Regions from separate parts of the Homo sapiens genome. Here all the other regions are linked to region 3. Evidence: promoter capture Hi-C in 16 types of primary human blood cells and fetal thymus (Javierre and others, 2016). All regions are on one chromosome and are shown on one strand. The core of a region is centred on a gene start or on the middle of the fragment in contact, and the rest is flanking DNA. Distances in the headings are between cores, read along the strand shown.

What was found. The method cuts DNA at HindIII sites, captures the fragments that hold promoters and counts their contacts. A CHiCAGO score of 5 or more calls a contact.
Region 1: the fragment with the promoter of TCEAL8 here is called in contact with the fragment with the promoter of GLA in region 3 in 1 of 17 cell types (fetal thymus); the score reaches 5.2 in fetal thymus.
Region 2: a contact is called between the fragment with the promoter of ARMCX5 here and the fragment with the promoter of GLA in region 3, in 1 of 17 cell types (monocytes). The highest score is 6.2, in monocytes.

What each region holds. Positions count from the first base shown.
Region 1 is chrX:103,253,891-103,256,590 of GRCh38, reverse strand. It overlaps TCEAL8 (transcription elongation factor A like 8), which reads left to right and starts at 1,436. Exons shown (of 3, transcript NM_153333.3): 1 at 1,436-1,513; 2 at 1,914-1,986; 3 at 2,574-2,700. The coding sequence starts at 2,612. RefSeq lists an enhancer at 1,450-1,499. The HindIII fragment of the contact is 6,472 bases long and covers 1-2,700 here.
Region 2 is chrX:102,598,219-102,600,918 of GRCh38, reverse strand. ARMCX5 (armadillo repeat containing X-linked 5) reads right to left here and starts at 1,404. Exons shown (of 4, transcript NM_001168478.2): 1 at 1,072-1,404. ARMCX5-GPRASP2 (ARMCX5-GPRASP2 readthrough) reads right to left here and starts at 1,404. Exons shown (of 19, transcript NR_146584.3): 1 at 1,072-1,404. RefSeq lists enhancers at 1,105-1,154, 587-1,358. The HindIII fragment of the contact is 9,703 bases long and covers 1-2,700 here.
Region 3 is chrX:101,406,599-101,409,298 of GRCh38, reverse strand. GLA (galactosidase alpha) reads left to right here and starts at 1,374. Exons shown (of 7, transcript NM_000169.3): 1 at 1,374-1,589. The coding sequence starts at 1,396. The region is part of intron 3 of RPL36A-HNRNPH2 (RPL36A-HNRNPH2 readthrough); the gene reads right to left. It overlaps HNRNPH2 (heterogeneous nuclear ribonucleoprotein H2), which reads right to left and starts at 1,077. Exons shown (of 2, transcript NM_019597.5): 1 at 980-1,077. The HindIII fragment of the contact is 11,084 bases long and covers 1-2,700 here.

The sequences.
Region 1 (2,700 bases), core at 187-2,686, 1.8 Mb before region 3:
GTCATGCTTCAACTATAAATCATTAAGTCCAAAAAATATTTATTTTTTCCAAACCTTCTTTTCTCTTCTCTGGTGGGTGTTCTTGTTGGCTAAGGCATCCTGCTGTGACCACCCTAGACAAAAGACCCCCTCTGTCTTCTTCTGACTCTCCAGCTGGCTCCATTGGCCAGAATGCCACTCCAGGCACCACCATCCTTCCAAGTACCAGTGGATTCTGAGTTGCAGGGATATCAGTTTCCTGTTTAATATTATTTTTTACAGCAATGTTGTTCTCTTTGCTTTCTAATCATAACAATTATGCATGTCAATAGTTCTTTTAATGGGACACAGTGGATGATACCAGACTATCTCAAGAGTGCCATGAATGAAAATGCCATGCAAAGAAGCCTCAAGCCTGATGGTGAGATACAGAGAATTCTCTTTTCTGAGTGTTTCATGAGTGTATGAGTTATTTCCCAACAACGAAATGTTTTCCAAGAAACATACTACTTTGAGTTCCAAAAGAATTTTACTCAGTGGAAAGCAGGCTTTTCTGTGGACTTATCTGATTAACAAGATACTGAATCCTATAGAGGAAATGGGGAGGAAGTCTGTCTGAAGCCTCCAAGTGAAACCTTAGTGGATGCCACCAGTGGTCATCAATGAAAAAGATCAGACATCCAACACTTGATAACTTGAGTTCTGCCAGAAATAGAAAGAGTAGTAGATTACCTATACAAAATTGCTAACAAGAGAAAACTAGGCCTCCTTCCACACATTAATTTGGGAGTCAATTTTTTAAGTGCTGTTTGGTAAGATTTTAAAAAATTCTAACACATCAATATGTTGTGAATATTGTCATTTCATTTCCAGCCATTAGAAAACTTTTCCAAAGTCTTACACATTGATATAACTAATTTGTCCTTCATATTAAGTGTTACATATTGCTTATGAGGCATCCGTTTTCTGATACCATTTTTAAAAGTATGCTGATTGCTGAAAACATAGAACACAACAGAAAACTATTCAAGAGGATTAGTCAAATCCTCCACTTTCAACCTTAGATTCTTTTCCAGCCCCCTCTTCCCGATCTACCACCTTTGCCCATTTCAATGCTGGATAGGATTCCAGGGGAAATGGTGGACTGTAGGGGTCTTGGAGGAGGGGAGGTGGGAGTATTGGGAGCAGAAGAAAGAGATGATTCCTCAAAGAAGGAGAAATGGTCGATTACCCCTAAAAGGCTGATCCTCCTGGTAATCTGAGAAAGGCGAATAAATACTCCAGGGCGAAGATAACAGTTTATTGTCTCCGATTGGCAAATACGAAAAAAGATTGACAGTATCAAGTGGAGGGAACGCAGCGGGCGGGCTGCAGTGTTAATGGGAGGGGTAACTGGGGACTCGAGCTCAGTGATGACGCGACTCTCACGTGACCAGGAGTCGACGTGTGCAGAAGTCCTTATAGTCCAGGGCCTGTTTCCCTGTAGCAGCTCCTTATTGCTGGAGAAGGAGAAAAGTGCCCAAGATCCTTTCAGGTTAGTATAAACGTGGGCGCTGACTTGGAGACCCTGGGGTCGAGGAGGCCGAGAGCAGAAAGCAAGCGGGGCCGGCACTGCTTTCCCCACTTCTGTTCCGCCAAACTCCCATTTTGTGCAGGAAATTTGGGGCTGTTTGGTGGGGGATGGCGGGTGGAGAGAGAGAAGGGTAGCTAATTAAGGGTCCTGAGAGAGAGACATAGAAACTGTTTGGAAGAAACTTGCTTTTCCTACTCCCTGCTTGCAGAAAAACGGTGGGCACGGAGGAGGGCGGGGTTGCCATAAAAGGAGGGCGAGGATGAGGACATGGGAAACTTTACACCAACATGGCCTAGAATCATGAAAGGGACCCGTGATCCAGGTACTAGTCTGCTCACCAAACACTCCCATCTGTCTGCAGGATATTTGGTTTTTTGGGCGCGACACAAATCGAGGTGAGGGAAGAGAGAGGAAAATCCCCTGAATCCCTGCAGGTCAGTTTTTGTAAAGGTGCAATTGCTTCAGGTCTCTTCGGGTGGGGGTGGAAGTGTGAGTGACACCAAAGCACATCCTGGGGTCGCAGCAGCCCCTCCCCATCCGGATTAAGTGCCAGAGGCCGGTGCCGAGCCTGCAGCGGAAATGAGGCGGGGGAGGAGGAGGCTTAAGAGACGCTGAAGGGGGAGGGGAGGCCAGAGACTGGACCAGCCGTCTCAGGTGAGAGGCTGGAGGTTGAGAGGGCCTGGGAAAGTCTGAAGGGCGGGAGTGTTGGAGACCAGAGGCGGGAGAAGGGTTAATTGCTTCCGTACTGCTCCCATTTCAGTATTAGGAGAGGCTTGTAGCAGGGCCTGCTGGGAAGATGGTGGGCAGGAGCAGGAGGAGAAAGATGGAGCTGGAACGAAAGGGGGCGCGAAGGGAGGTGGAGTCAGGGGAGTTCTGAGCCTGAGGATCCAGCTTTCTCTAGTTGGAAAACTTTTGACAATTAGGGTACTGAGTCAAAAAAGGCCAGTCGCTATGGGACCCCATACTCTGACTGCTGGTCTGTTTGCCTGGAATCTAGTAGTTTTGTTTCCTTGTTTTCTAGGATTAATTTATTCAAAAAGGAAATAAAAAATACTCAATATGCAAAAGTCTTGTGAAGAAAATGAGGGAAAACCACAGAACATGCCAAAGGCCGAGGAAGATCGCCCTTTGGAGGATGTACCACAGGA
Region 2 (2,700 bases), core at 155-2,654, 1.2 Mb before region 3:
TACAGGGATTCACAAAAACAGAGACCAATAAATGAAGACACAGGAGACAGTTGAGGCTGTTTTTGGTAGAGACCAGCACCTAGGGCACAGTTTCTTTCTGGATATAAGTACCTGTTTGGCAAACATTTTCTATCTCCCCTTTTTCTCCCACTCCTAAATCTCCAAGCCCCTCTGCTCTATTCTCAAAGTCTGACAATTCCTATACAGAGACAACTCAAACATCCCTACAAGGTAGTAGTAGTGGTGTTAGTAGGGACGAAATGCCTAGACAAACCACGGAGGCTGGGGAAAAAATGAAAAGTATTTATTTCCATATTTCATCTGGGTTCCTATGTTTCCTTCCTCTCTCCCAAAGCCTATCATTTTCTGCAACATAATGCGGGTAAGGGAGGACATGTTAGGAAAGCTGGCAGAGAGTTCTGGAGGCTCCCTTACACTCCTGCCTACTCTAATCTTAGCCATCTACCACCTCCAAGTACTGCCTCCCAAGTACTGCCCACTCTGTACAAACCAGGCCAATTTTCTTTTCCTTCTCCTCTCCCCTTGAGGTCTGCTGTCCCCTACAGATCTTTACAGAAACATGGAGTGCTGCAAACTTAGGAACAGATTTACACATAAAAACGCGTGATACACACCCAAAGAACAAATGAAAAGACAGAGAGAGAGACGTGGTTATTAATGGTCAGACCAGTAACCAAGACATGAGACCCTTTTCAAATCCAGAGCCTTGATTATCAAACATTTACAACCTCTTTTTACATTCTCTCCCTCTCAGGGCTCCCCAGACAACTGTCCTCGCCTGTGGAAGTAGCCCTCTCTTCCTCATCTAGTCTGCCTTTTCCCTGCTAGAAGCTGCAACCTTTTTCTTCCCAAGCATGGTCTGAGGTGAACCGAGTGTATGGAAATCAAGCTAGCAAAAGGTAGATCATTTTTTTTTAATTGTTGTGTGCCATTCCAATTACCCATCTCTCTCTCCTTCTCACCGCCCGCCTCCCATGACCAGGTCGCGTATCCAGTGTTCACCTCTGATACCCACATCCACCCCCAAGCGATGCGCACCTTCTCACTGACCTTCTCTGCTTGGATCAGAGGCAGTTTTCTTATTTCCTTGCCTCGAGGTGCTGTGTCATACAGCAGCAGGAACAGACAGTCAGACACAAGGACTCGAGGCAATGGCGGCGGCTGTGTATGGGGATTGACTCGGCACCTGGGACTCAAGACGAGATAACCGCTTTATCAGATTAAAGACTGCGATTGGCAAACTGTTGTCACTTTTGGTATTCTTTTCTCCTTCCTGTTCCCAGGGCTCCTCAGAACCTCGCGCGTAGTTACCATTTAACATCTACCTTTTCCTCCGCAGACGAGGTTCTTCCACGTCCGCGTTACCCACAACGGCAGTGGGAGGAGCTAGAGCGTAGTTTATGGGGATCCGGCTTATGGAAGCGGAGTGATATCAGGCTTTGTTTAGCGCCGCGACTCTTTTCTGTCGGAGGGCTCCCTGTCCTGTACCCTGTGGCCGCTTCAGGTATTGGAATGCGCAGGGACGAATTCCGGATATAGGGAAAACGGCGCTGGAACAAGAGAGGCAGACAAATACCAGAGTGTTTCTGTATTAGTTCCCCTTTTGCGGGAGCTCCCCCCACCAAGCCTACCATTCTTTCCTGAACTGAAATGCACATGGGTTTCCAGCTGTGGTGTCAGGAAATCTCTTCTGGCCTGACAGGCGGAAGTGTTCCAGTCTTTCGAAGTTCGTTCTCCAAACACAGAGGCCCACTGAAATGGGCGGTCTCGGGGTGGGGCCCAGGGTAGGAAAGTCAGCAAAGAGAGTCAAGACTGAGATAGGAGGATACATACTAATCGATTCCACAAACTTTGTGTTCCTTCGAGTCCTCCCTCCCAGCCCTTAATTTTCATTTTCTTTTTTTTTTTTTTAAGTTCTAGGATACATGTGCAGGATGTGCGTGTTTGTTAAATAGGCAAACGTGTGCCGTGGTGGCTTGCTGCACCAATCAACCTATGACCTAGGTATTAAGCCTGGCATGCATTAGCTATTTTTCCTAAGGCTTTCCCTCACCGCCCCCCACAACCCCTGACAGGTCCCAGTGCGTGTTTTTCCCCTCCCTGTGTACATGTGTTCTCATTGTTCAGCTTCCACTTATAAGGGAGAACATGCAGTATTTGTTTTCTGTTGCTGCATTAGTTTGCTGAGGATAATGGCTTCCAGCTCGATCCATGTCCCTACAAAGGACATGATCTCATTCTTTATTATGGCTGCATGGTATTTCATGGTGTATATGCACCACATTTTCTTAATGTTATCACTGATGGGCATTTGGGTTGATGCCACGTCTTTGCTATTGTGAATAGTGCGGCAATGAATATACGTGTGCGTGTATCTTTGTAATAGAATGATTTATATTCCTTTGGGTATATACCCAGTAATGGGATTGCTGGGTCAAATGGTATTTCTGGTTCTAGATATTTGAGGAATTGCCACACCGTCTTCCACAATGGTTGAACTAATTTACATTCCCACCAATGTAAAAGCGTTCCCATTTCTCTGCAACTTTGCCAGCATCTCTTGTTTCTTAACTTTGTATTAATTGCCGTTATGACTGGTGTGAGATGGTATCTCATTGTGATTTTGATTTGCATTTCTCTAATGATCAGTGATGTTGAGCTTTTTTCCATGTGTTTGTT
Region 3 (2,700 bases), core at 125-2,624:
ATTTAACAAACATTTACTGATTGCCGATTATGTGCCTAGCACACTGCATCTGCAGTGATAACAGTTTTCCTATTAACCATCCTAAGGTCTCAGTGACAGATTTACAAGCTGTTTTTTTATTTCATTTTGCAGGATTTTTTTTTTTTTTTTTGCTTGCCTTATCCCTGGGATAACCCGTCCCATTTAATTCCCTGCACCGCTCTATTCCTTAAGAGCCCTTCTGTAGGGGCAGAGAGGTTCTACTTCATTACTGCGTCTCCTGGGAAGGCCATCAGGACTGCTGGCTAAAGTGGGAACCAGGACTCTTTGTGAGTTAAGAATTTGTGTATTTATATGTGTGTTATACACATTTTTTAAAAAACTGTAACGACATCAGGTTGAGCAGTCGTCTCCGGGTGGTGAATTATGTGTATTTTTAAATTTTATACTATATTGTTATTTTTCAAATGTTCGAAATTGAATATGTAGATTGTTGTTATCAGCAGAAAAATAAACATTATTCAAATACTCTATTCAGTAAAGTAATTTATTGGGCGCCTTTGTCAAGCACGCATTTGCCTAGATGTGACTCTACAGATAAAATTCACTTGGGGCCTCCCCTTACAGACAATCAGGCAGTGGAGACTGAGTGCCTGAATGGATAGACCAGCACTCAGACCACTATTTTCAGTATCTGTTTTTCTTAACTCAGGGCCGTGGTTTTCAAACGTTTTTCGCCTTACGGTCACCCTTAGGGGTCCCCCGAGACCGGCCCAGACAGACAGATATACAAAAACACATACACAGTCATGAGCGTCCACCATTTCCCCACCAGGCGCAGCACAGGCGGCTTCCCGGCACTGAGATGGGGGGGAGGAGGGAGAGAGCGCGAGGGGGGAGGGGAAAGCAGAGAACGAAAGAGGCGGAGGCGGCCCCCGAACCCCGCTCTGGTCTTCATCATCACCACCCCTGGGTCCCCAGTTCCCACCCACACACCAACCTCTAACGATACCGGGTAATTTTCCTCCTTCTTCCCTCAAACGGCTATAGCGAGACGGTAGACGACGACCAGAACTACTTCTGCTCACGTAAGCGAGTAATCACGTGAGCGCCTACGTCATGTGAGATCTCGGTCACGTGAGCAACTCTCGGCTTAAACTCGGGATCACTAAGGTGCCGCACTTCCTTCTGGTATGGAAATAGGGCGGGTCAATATCAAGAAAGGAAGAGGGTGATTGGTTAGCGGAACGTCTTACGTGACTGATTATTGGTCTACCTCTGGGGATAACCGTCCCAGTTGCCAGAGAAACAATAACGTCATTATTTAATAAGTCATCGGTGATTGGTCCGCCCCTGAGGTTAATCTTAAAAGCCCAGGTTACCCGCGGAAATTTATGCTGTCCGGTCACCGTGACAATGCAGCTGAGGAACCCAGAACTACATCTGGGCTGCGCGCTTGCGCTTCGCTTCCTGGCCCTCGTTTCCTGGGACATCCCTGGGGCTAGAGCACTGGACAATGGATTGGCAAGGACGCCTACCATGGGCTGGCTGCACTGGGAGCGCTTCATGTGCAACCTTGACTGCCAGGAAGAGCCAGATTCCTGCATCAGGTATCAGATATTGGGTACTCCCTTCCCTTTGCTTTTCCATGTGTTTGGGTGTGTTTGGGGAACTGGAGAGTCTCAACGGGAACAGTTGAGCCCGAGGGAGAGCTCCCCCACCCGACTCTGCTGCTGCTTTTTTATCCCCAGCAAACTGTCCCGAATCAGGACTAGCCCTAAACTTTCTCTGTGTGACCTTTCCTGGGATGGGAGTCCGGCCAGCGGCCCCTGTTTCTTTCTCTCTCTCTCTCTCTCTCGTTCTCCTTCTCTTTCTCTTTCTCTTCTTTCCTCTCTCTTTCTCTCTCTCCCTGCCCGGTTCTCTTTTTTCACTGCTCCTTGCAGAGCAGGGCCACCCCATAGGCAGTGTGCCCAAAGTAGCCCTGCCCGGTTCTATTCAGACCCTTCTTGTGAACTTCTGCTCTTCCTCTGCCGGGTGCTAACCGTTAGAACATCTAGGGTGGGTAGGAGGAATGGGGAACTAAGATTCGTGCCATTTTTTCTCCTTTTGGGGTCGTGGATTTCTCGGCAGTATCTCGAGGGAGTTAGAGAGACCATAAGGTCGCTGAGATCTCTCCCACCTCGCCCATGAGCGTGGCATCAGGCTGGAAGGTTGACATGGAGGAACTTTATACATTTACACCTTTGCGTGAGGGTTGAGGCTGGATTAGATAGGTATTGAACATATCTGACCCTCACAATCCTTATCTGTAAATTGGGATTACAACCTTTTAATTTCAGGGAGCTGACAAAAAAAATCTGAAAAATAGTTCTTATCTCACACAGGTGAGTTTTCAAGGAGATAACCTATTTAAAGTACATAGCACAGCGCTTGACCATTCAACTGCGCTTACAGAGCAAATGTTCAATGGGAAAATGAATGTAAATCTACAAATCTGAATGAATATGTGTATTTTTCTGGAGAGAGGATATTTACCTTTCTTCAAATTCTCAAAGGGCTCTGTGATTTAAAAAAGGTTAGGAATCACTGATAGATGTTGGTAAAAGGTGGCAGTCACAGTACATTTCTGTGTCCATAAGTTATTCCTATGAATATCTTTATAGATAAAGTCAGGATGTTGGTCAGACATCACAGAAGAAATTGGCCTTGTAAGTTTCATGT